Regions from separate parts of the Homo sapiens genome. Here all the other regions are linked to region 1. The links are contacts of gene promoters, found by promoter capture Hi-C in blood cells and fetal thymus (Javierre and others, 2016). All regions are on one chromosome and are shown on one strand. Each heading gives the region's core, a stretch centred on a gene start or on the middle of the fragment in contact. The rest is flanking DNA. Distances are from core to core; before and after follow the strand shown.

What was found. Contacts are between HindIII fragments. The CHiCAGO score rates a contact against its expected background, and 5 or more counts as called.
Region 2: a fragment that was not itself captured here is called in contact with the fragment with the promoter of NFX1 in region 1 in 1 of 17 cell types (monocytes); the score reaches 7.5 in monocytes.
Region 3: a fragment that was not itself captured here is called in contact with the fragment with the promoter of NFX1 in region 1 in 3 of 17 cell types (naive CD4 T cells, total B cells and fetal thymus); the score reaches 6.1 in naive CD4 T cells.

The regions. Positions count from the first base shown.
Region 1 is chr9:33,288,735-33,292,232 of GRCh38, reverse strand. NFX1 (nuclear transcription factor, X-box binding 1) reads right to left here and starts at 1,717. Exons shown (of 24, transcript NM_002504.6): 1 at 1,636-1,717. The coding sequence starts at 1,660. It also overlaps the pseudogene LOC100862682. RefSeq lists enhancers at 1,442-1,491, 473-1,672, 1,642-1,691, 1,702-2,121, 2,827-3,498. The HindIII fragment of the contact is 6,050 bases long and covers 1-3,498 here.
Region 2 is chr9:32,568,499-32,571,996 of GRCh38, reverse strand. It overlaps NDUFB6 (NADH:ubiquinone oxidoreductase subunit B6), which reads left to right. Exons shown (of 4, transcript NM_002493.5): 2 at 945-1,037. Among named protein-coding and RNA genes, the nearest start is that of NDUFB6, 2.9 kb to the left of the region's middle. The HindIII fragment of the contact is 3,670 bases long and covers 1-3,498 here.
Region 3 is chr9:33,818,512-33,822,009 of GRCh38, reverse strand. The region is part of intron 1 of UBE2R2 (ubiquitin conjugating enzyme E2 R2); the gene reads right to left. It overlaps UBE2R2-AS1 (UBE2R2 antisense RNA 1), which reads left to right and starts at 3,142. Exons shown (of 5, transcript NR_170204.1): 1 at 3,142-3,383. The HindIII fragment of the contact is 284 bases long and covers 1,395-1,678 here.

The DNA.
Region 1 (3,498 bases), core at 468-2,967:
AAGGAGGTCTTTGGACTAGAAGATTTTGCCTCATTAGATACTTTCTGGGTTGGAGGTAATAACTTGGGCACAACACCAAAGTTCAACACGAAGACTCACAACTAGGCCCCACCGAATTCTTCTTCAAACACTGAAGGGTACAGAAATGAGTCAGAAACGAGCCTGTGGATGAGACGATCAATAGATCCAGTTTAGAGAATCTGGTGAAGGACTAGGTGAGGAGAATAACAAAATACCCAGCCCAAAAAGTTTTCCAACCCCAAGGAAGACTTAATATCCACATCAAGACTAGGGTACACCAATGCAGTGTGTTTTCCAACTTTTTTTTTTGAGACGAAGTCACACTCTGTCGCCCAGGCTGGAGTGCAGTGGCACGATCTTGGCTCACTGCAACTTCCGCCTCCAGGGTTCAAGCAATTCTCTTGCCTCAGCCTCCGGAGTAGCTGGGACTACAGGCGCGTGCCACCATGCCCAGCTAATTTTTTGTATTTTTAGTAGAGACGGGGTTTCACCGTGTTAGCCAGGATGGTCTCGATCTCCTGACCTCGTGATCCGTCCACCTCGGCCTCCCAAAGTGCTAGGATTACAGGCGTGAGCCACCACGCCCGGCCCTAACTTTTTAAACTAAGAACCATAGTAATAAATACATTTTACCTGCCACCCAGTATACAAATACATATATGGTCTTCTTGGTGCCCCAACGGCTGGTCAGGGACAGAGCTGAGATTCAAACCAATGGTTTCCAAACTCCATTCTGCAAACTGCTGCCCTGTTTTCCAGAGTGGGCCATAAAATCAAATGAAGGCAGTGGGCTGTGACATATTTTTAAACGAAACAGAAAACAGAATATATTGCTGATTGTAAAACAAACCAACCAACCTCACTGCTTCCAGAAACTTCTGGTTCGCTTTTATATTTATGTAAGTGTACAATATTTAAGGTCGCGATGCAAAATGTTTCTTTTGGTTGCTGTCCAACACATTTGGAAAACACTGATCTATGGAACACCCTGAGGAAATGGATGTTATATCAACGAACAAATGAGGCTGTCTCTACACACTGAGGCAACTCCAGGAGGGGGAGTGAGTGAACAATTACAGAATAGGTACAGTACAGGGCGGGAGCCATCACAGGAATTAACTTATCTACTCCCAACTGACAGATGAGGAGACTGAGACTGAGTCACACGGGGTTCGCAGCAGGCTGAGACTCTAAACTACTGGAATTCGGCTCGCGCCCACGCCACCACTCCAGGCGGTATGAGCACACCACACCCTACACGTCAAGAGCCCGCCACCGTCACTGGCTGTGACCTGGCCGACGCCCGCCTGTCGAAGGTCAGTGCGCCGCTGCCCCAGAAACAGCCTGTGGGAAGGCAGGGCACCCACATCGACTCGCAGCGCCGGGACAAGTCCTCTCTCCTCCGAAACCCAGCTACTGGGCTTCACCATCTAGTCCAAGAAGACACAGATCTTCGTACGCACGATGCGCGGGGCTTGGCCCTTCCGAGCCACTATCCTACGCCCTAGCATGTGCTACTCTCGCGATATGAGTGGCTGAGGCCCTAGAACTTCGTCACTGACCCAATTTCCGCTCCCTGAAAGGGGCCCAGTCCCGCTCGGGCCGGGACAATACCTGAGACAGGAGGCGCCTCCGCCATCCCGTGCCGCAGAACCTAGATCGAGCTGTACAGCCAAGTCAGCACTGTCACCAGGTCACGTGCCCCGGACTTCCGGCGCCGCGAGAATATTCGCATCTGCGCGCCGTGTAGACGGCCACAGAGGTTGCGCAGCCCGAATCTGTGTGGCGCGTTCGTGACGTCAGATAGACGCGCCAGGTGTCGGGCGGGAGGAGGAGACTAGTAGCTGGATGGAAATAGCAACAATCGCAGGAGGGAGGGCGGCGACTTGCGTAATCATTGTGGTTTTCCTTTTTTTATTTTTTGATATAGGGTCTTGCTGCCTTACCCAGGCTTGAGTGCAGTGGTCTGATCATGGCTCACTATAGCTTCAGTCTCTAATCCTCCCGCCTCAGCCTTCCGGTAGCTGGAACTACAGGCGGAGCCACCATGCGCAGCTATTTTTAGTAGAGACGGGTTTCGCCATGTTGCCCAGGCTAGTCTCTCCAACTCCTGGCCTCAAGCGATCCTGCCGCTTTGGCCTCCTAAAGTGCTTGGCTTACAGGCGAGCCACCACGCCTGGCTCCAGACTTTTTTTTTTTTTTTTTTTTTTACAAAGGCGTTTATTCTCATCAGTATCACCGATATTCTCATGGTTCACATTTGCCAACGCCGCTCCTCTCCTTACAGTAGTTAAATGTGCAATCTCACTTGGGGGCCCAGGGAGGGGTGGGGGCTCGGCCCAGGGTGGGGAGGGCGTTGGCACTTCACGTGGACAGGGTGGGCAGCCTGTCCTGCGTGAAAGAGGTGTGGGTGAGTGGGCGGCCAGGGAAGGGGAGTTGGCAGGGGAGGGCCCCGCAGTCTTTTTTTCTTTGGTGGTTGGTGATTCTCCATTCAGATTCCTTCCTGGCTTCCCAGGGTAGGGGAACCATGCAGCTCAGGGCAGGGCAGGGGAGGAAGAGAAGGAAAAAGCAGCAGGCCGCCCGGGGGGAAAGGTGGAGGGTGAACGGCAGGGCAAGGGGGAACGGGTGGCTCCTGAGGTAAGGCACAACCCTGTCTTTGGCTTTCCTGGTGAGGAGTTTCCTCCCCTGCACCCCCTGCCCGACGCTTCTCCCCACCCCCCCACCCCCCAGACCCACACACAGTCCCAGGAGCCAGGGGGCACCACCTCCTGGGGTCCCTGAAACAAGTGGGCTCTGCCACCCAAGCCAGTGCCGCAGGGGCTCGAGGAGGGACACCCGAGGAAAAGGCAGAGAGGGGCAGGCAGGGGCCTACCCAGGACAAGGGGGTGGGGGTGAGAAGACCCTAGGCCCAGGAGCTGGGCCCCCCGCCCCAACTAAGTCCTGGAAGTGGGGGAGCACCTGCTTCCTTTCGGGGGTCTGGCTGGAGCCCCGGTCTGCCCCTTGGCCTCCGTCAGGCCCAGCCACTTGCCAAGTGACCAGGGCATTGTGCTTTGGGGTAAACGCTGGGGTGGGGTGGCAGGCCAGGAGGCAGGGGGAGAGGAGGGATGACTAAGGTGCTTGTGCTTTAGCTGGGGGTGTCGATATCCCCCACTCGGGCCGGCTGGGGGCTAAGGTGCCAGGCCCCGGCCAGGAAGACAGTGCCAAGACCCCAGCAGACCGTGGCACTGACCCCCACAACAAGCAGATGTTAAGAGGGACCCCCAGTGGGCCAGCGGGGCTGCTGGTCCCATCAGGGGGATGGTCTTCAAATCAGATTACAAGGGTCCAGTAGGGGCTGGCCCCCACCCCATCTCCTGAAATCCCCCTGCCCCTGGAGAGACCCCTGGGAGCAGTAGGTAGGCGGGGGTTGGGGAGGCAGAGGAGAGGCAGGGAGGACGAGGGCCAGAAACGCAAACAAGGATGTGGATGGTGAAATGA
Region 2 (3,498 bases), core at 564-3,063, 720 kb after region 1:
GGAGCTAGGAATTGAATATGAGTTCATATTGTAATCAACATGTATCTGATTCTTACTGTGCTACAAAGTCTAGTGCAATAGAATTGTTGAAAATTTTTCTGAGAAAGTGATATTGGATACTTATTTATGGTGGTAAAATTCAACTCTTCTCCCACCCTTTGTATCCCTGACATTATCGGAATATTGGCAGTCACTGATTTAAAGTTGACATCCCATCCATCAGCAAGTGATATAAGGAAGTAAATAAATAATAATGTGTCGAAGTTCACCTTACCTTACTTTAATTTATTCTTTTATAATCATATCTGTTATAATTCTTAGATTCTGGATTGTCCCTTCCTTGAATGGATAGGTGTTTTTTAATCAAGTTGGAAGACATGGGAAAGTTCCATTTTTAGTTCTTTTTTAAAATAGTGTTGCAGAGGGCATTTTGGAGTGAGTTTGGGACACCCCATCTTAGTATGTAAAACGTCCTTTTTCCAGCATTGGCGTTGTCAAGGTTGTCTGCCTTATACCTAAAATGATGTGAGTGTCATTGATCAATAAATAAGGGAGATGACTATACCTGAAAAATTCTGTAGGTTTGATTACTCTGGTTAAATACATTAAAATTATTCTTTCATTATTTTGCTATATTTTATCTTTAACAAACTTATAATAAGGATATTTTTGGAAGTCTTTAAAAAATCTATAAATGCCTTGTTATAGTCTTGCAAAATACTGCTTAAGCATTTTGGTCTGGACTTTGTAGGTATCTTCTAGCAGACTCTGCATTTACTAAGAATATTTGAGTAGATGAGGTTACCTACAGACTATAAGAAAATATGTGCCATTTAGAGTTTTGTAAAATAGTCATGGCATTGTTACATCATTGATGCCTTTTGTTCTGCCATAAATATAAAAAATGGGATATGTTTATTTTGTGTATGTGTTTTTCCCCCCAGGTCCATGGGGTATACAAAAAGAGTATCTTTGTTTTCACTCATGTACTTGTACCTGTCTGGATTATTCATTATTACATGAAGTATCATGTTTCTGTAAGTATGTCCTTTTCAGAATTCATTTTTAATATTGTCCAAAATTACTTTCTTTGTGGCTATCTTACCCTACTTAGTGGAAATAATCTGCCACTTATAAACAGATTTTGAAGTACTTTGAATTCTCTTAGGTAAAAGGTTTAATGAAAGTTACATAATTGGGTATAGTTTTTAAAAAATATTGTCACTAGTTTACAACTTGAAATGGATTTCCTCATAGAAATTAGTATTTAAGTGATAAGAATGTAGTGACCTAATAATACTAGGGTAAATTTGGAGTCATGAATAGGAAGGGAGAAAACAATTCTGCTCCTTTTTAAAAACCTGTATCTCGTATAAGGTAAAAATTCAAAATAGACAAAGCATATCTTTGTCATCACCCAATTTCTGTTCCCTTCATTTTATCTGATTCTTCACAATTTTTATTTATTTAGAACTCAGGATGTCCAGATGCCTGCACTTTTTCACTGATACAGATCTTGCATGGGCTGATGGAACTGAGCCAGTTGTGGTATTTTAAAGGCTTGGTCTGGTGCAGGGTGTTGGATCCCAGGCAGAATGAGAAGGGCATGCATTTTGGGAAGTGGCGTGGCAGAGGGAGCAGTGGTGACTGCGTAGCCTGAAGTGTTGGAGCACAAAAGAGTGAGGAGGGCATTCGTATACCAAGAGAGGGGTGTTAGATCCTCAGTGGGTTGCAGGGGAGGAGGGTGAGCACATCTGTTTGGGGAGCAACAGTGGCAACAGCCTAGTATAGGATATTGGTACCTGAGCAGAGGGAGGAGGACATCTGGAAGAAGGATGGTATGAGGCAGTGAGGCAAGTGGTAACTCAGAGCAAGATGTCAGAACCTGAATGAGGTGAGGCAGGTATTAATGCTGGGATGTGGTTGTGGTGACAGGAGATGGGTTATATATAGGGAGATTGGCCAAATACAGGCATACCTCAGAGATATTTCAGAATTGGTTGTAGAACAATGCAGTTCCAAAAGTATTCTTTGGTTCTAGACCACCAAAACGAGTTACACAAATTTTTTGGCTTCCTAGTGCATATAAAAGTTATGTTTACACTGTGCTGTGGTATAAGTGTGTAATAGCAGTGTAAAAGAACGATGTATATGCTTTAATTTAAAAATACTTTATTGCTGGGCCATGTGTGGTGGCTCCCACCTGTAGCCCTAGCACTTTGAGAGGCCAAGGTAGGAAGATTGCTTGAGGCCAGAAGTTCGACCGGCTTGGGCAACATAGTGAGACTCCATGTTTCCAAAAAAAAAGAAAAAAAAATAGCTGGATGTAGTGGTCCACACCTATAATCCCAGCTACTCAAGAGGCTGAGATGGGAGGATTGCTTGAGCCCAGGATTTCGAGGCTGCAATAAACTGTGATTGTGCCACTGCACTCTGGCCTAGGTGCCAGGTTGATATGCTGCCTTAAAAAGAAAAAACAGGCCGGGCACGGTGGCTCATGCCTGTAATCCCAGCACTTTGGGAGGTTGAGGCGGGTGGATCACGAGGTCAAGAGATCGAGACCATCCTGGCCAACATGGTGAAACCCCACCTCTACTAAAAATAAAAAAAATGAGCTGGGCATGGTGGCGGGCGCCTGTAGTCCCAGCTATTCGGGAGGTTGAGGCAGAAGAATCACTTGAACCTGGGAGGTGGAGGTTGCAGTGAGCTGAGATCGTGCCACTGCACTCCAGCCTGGCGACAGAGTGAGACTCCGTCTCAAAAAAGAAAAAGAAAAAAACAAAAACTTCATTGCTAAAAAATGCTAATGATCATTTGAGCCTTAGTGACTATGTATGATCTTTTTGCTAATGGAAGGTCTTGCTTCCATGTTGATAACTGCTGACTGATCAGGGTGATGGTTGTTGCAGGCTGGAGTGGCTGTGGCAATTTCTTAATATAAGATAGCAGGCGGGGCGCGGTGTCCCACGCCTGTAATCCTACCACTTTGGGAGGCCAAGGCAGGTGGATCACGAGGTCAGGAGTTCAAGACCACCCTGGCCAAGATGGTGAGACCCTGTCTCTACTAAAAATACAAAAATTAGCTGGGAGTAGTAGTGGGTGCCTGTAATCCCAGCTACTCGGGAGGCTGAGGCAGGAGAATCGCTTGAACCCGGGAGGCGGAGGTTGCAGTGAGCTGAGATTGCACCACTGCACTCCATCCTGGGCAACAGAGCAAGACTCCATCTCAAAAAAAAAAAAAAAAAAAATATATATATATATATATGCACACACACACACATATACATACACATATATATACATACGTATATACATATATAAGTATATGTACATATATACATATATATATATGTATATGAGACAACACTGAGGTTTGCCACATCGATTGACTTTTATTTTCACGAAAGATATCTCTGTAGCATGAGATGCTGTTTGATAGCATAGCATTTTACCCACAGTATAACTTTCAAAATTGGAGTCAGGCCTTTCAAACCATGC
Region 3 (3,498 bases), core at 287-2,786, 530 kb before region 1:
ATCAGACTGGAGTTTTCTAAAAATGGAACACATCTATATTTCATTACCTCAATCAAATTATTTAATAAAATCAAAACTATAAAAGGTTGGCCAGGAGTGGTGGCTCAGGCCTCTAATTAGGATTACATTTTGGGAGGCTGAGATGGGCAGATCACTTAAGGTCAGGGGTTCAAGACCAGCCTGGCCAACATGGTGAAACCCTGTCTCTACTAAAAATACAAAAAGAATTAGCCAGGTTTCATGGCGCACGCCGGTAATCCCAGCTACTCGGGAGGCTGAGGCAAGAGAATCGCTTGAACCCAGGAGGCAGAGGTTGCAGTGAGCTGAGATCGTGCCACTGCACTCCAGCCTGGCAAAAGAGTGAGACTCCATCTCAAAAAAAAAAAAAATTTTTTTTTGTTATGCATATCATAAAAGAGGCACTCTTTCTGGCTCTAGACTCACTGCTATAATGCTTTAGATAAATAATGCAAAAGTTCCAAGGAGGTTCAGTACTAAAGCACCCACACTAAGCTACAATCCTTAGCAGGAGTTATTTGAAAAGATAGTTCCAGCCGGGCATGGTGGCTGACGCCTGTAAAACCAGCACTTTGGGTGGCTGAGAAAGGAGGATCCTTTGAACCCAGGAGTTTGAGACCAGCCTGGACAAAATAGTGAGACCCTACCTCACTTAACAATACTGAAGAAAAAAAAATTAGCCGGGCGTAGTCATGCCTGTAGTCCCAGCTACTCAGGGGGCTGAGGTGGGAGGACTGCTTGAGCCTAGGATGTGGAAGCTGCAGTGAGCCATGATCACACCACTGTACCCCAAACTAAGTGACAGAGAAAGACCCTGAAAAAGTTCCTTTCAAAAGAAAGGGGGTGAACTTGTTAAAAGTCTTCATTAGCTACTGACTTGATCCACAATTTATTTTTCTAGTAACAATAAAATTCCGACTTGCTTAGGTAGCAAAATAAGAAACTACACAAAAAGATAGTAAGGCCAAAAAAGATTGTATAGTATTCAGAATGGACAGAAGAAACTATCTTTGCCCATCCTACATCTATATGGCCCAAAACTAAGAATCACGTGGATTGGCGATATTAAATAAGCGAAAGCAGGATGAATAAAAAAATTCTGTGAAATACAGGTCTCACAAATCTCCAATGCAGATCCTGTGGGTAAGAGACAAGAGCCAACTATTTCAGGGTGAAAAAGATCAGTTAGAAACCTATTAATATATAAAAGTTAAAGGAATTACAGTATGAAAAATGTAAAGAATGACTGGCAGTCCCACTGCCTTCACGAATGACTATGCCAAAAAGGGAAAAGAGTTTAACTTGAAAATAAATTATACTAAATGTTCAAGGACTAACATTTAATAAGGGAGAAGAGTGATATGGTAGGGAAAGCTTTGTGCCAACTTTCAACTGCAGCTGTAGTGAAATACACTAAAAGCCTTGTCTTAAGACAAAAGCAGTAAAATAAAAACAATGGTTTTAAACATATCCCCAGTGTCAACTGCTCATGACCATAAATTTGCCTTTTTCTAATGAACAACTAATGGGATAAAAGGCCATATAAGGGAAAAAGTAGTCGAAAATACAATCGAACAAACTTCTCACACAAGACTAAACCATAAAACCTGTTTACAAATTTTCATACATGTCAGAATTAAAGGTAAAAACACTCAAAGCTTAAGAAATCTAACATCACAAAGCACGAGATTAAATCATTCTTTTAAACAAGGACTGAAGTTCAGAAGCATTTAATTTAAATCAGTGTATTAACACAAGGAATCCTTCCATACTTCCTATTTCAGAGAGGGTTCTCCACACTCCTTTCCCAGACTTATGCACAAATATTACAACTTGCAACCCATTATTTTCTCTCATGTACAAGTTTTGTTTTGTTTTGTTTTGTTTGCTCTTGTTTTTAACTTTATTGGAGTGAGATTATTCTAACTAGTACCCATTTATTTATTTTAAATATCGGTTGTACCAAACAATGACACTTTTTGGAAATCAAACTTTATTCCACTAACATTAGCCAGCAGATTTTGCTAAACAATGTTTTGTCAGAAAAGGCATCATGGCCGGGCGCAGTGGCTCACGCCTGTAATCCCAGCACTTTGGGAGGCAGAGGCGGGTTGATCACAGGGTCTGGAGTTCGAGACCGGCCTGGCCAATATGGTGAAACCCCATCTCTACTAAAAATACAAAAATTAGCTGGGCGTGGTGGCGTGCGCCTGTAGTCCCAGCAGCTTGGGAGGCTGAGGCAGGAGAATAGCTTGAATCTGGGAGGCGGAGGTTGCAGTGAGGCGAGATCGCGCCACTGCACTCCAGCCAGGGTGACAGAGCGAGACTCCGTCTCAAAAAAAAAAAAGAAAGGTATCACATACATTCAATTTTGTACAACTAATTTTTCCAGTATGCATAAAAATTTATATTTGACAACAGAGAATATGCTTCATCATAAACACAGCAATATCTTTTCCACTTTGTTACTAATAAGTTGCATGTTTTCTTAGTAATTTTAAATACCTCCATCTGAAAAGTATAGGGTAGGCTGACCACAAAAGATGAAGCCTAACAGTTGGTAGGGGTACCGCACTTACATAATATTCTAAAAACGTGCTTTTCCTAGGTACTCAGTGACTATATACAGTAGTGAATATTAAACATTCCTGTATCAATCCCATTTCCTACAAAGTTGACCTAATTTCAAGCATAAAACTGAGGTTTCCACCTTTAGAAGGGTAGAAAACAAGAGTTAAGTAATTGGGTAGTCCTAAAAATACACATCACAACTACATGACTAAGATACTCATTTAAAACTTGTGCCAAGATAACCCCTCCCTTCCAAACTAAAATTGACTCACTGGCCTATTTTACTTAATTTTGAAAATAAAAAAATAAAACTAAATGGATTCCTAAGCACTCATTTCCTCTCTCTGCCCCCATCATTTAAAATATTCAGACTTTCAATCTGTGATTCCTCCCTGCAAAAACACTCAAGTAAAAACAAAACAAAACAAACACTCATTATCTCCAAGTTAACTACCTTGGAGTTAAAAAAAAATCATTAGATTCTGGAATGATAACCACTGTTCTAAGACCATATAAAACAACAGAAACAATGTCTGTGGTCGCTAAGGAACCATACATCCCACCCAGAGAAACGATCTCGCCTCAGATGATACTTGTCATCTGTGAGACCACCCCTTTAGCTAGAGTTAACCACTTGAGCAGGTTTCAATTTTGTCTCTGAAAGTAGGAAGCTATCAGTCTCCCTACATGACTCGTTCCACCCTTTGTGGATACTTCTACCTGTAGAAAAAAAGGTTGGCAAACTTGGTGGCATGGTGAGGACAAAGGGCATTTTGAAAGAACCAGTGACTGAGGTAAGCAGAGAATGTGAACGGAAAGAGGGTTAAAGTTCCCCCAAATGGATAATGACAAGACGACGCGGGCACCCTTTTTTTTTTTTTTTTTTTTTTTACCACCCCTAGGGTCCCA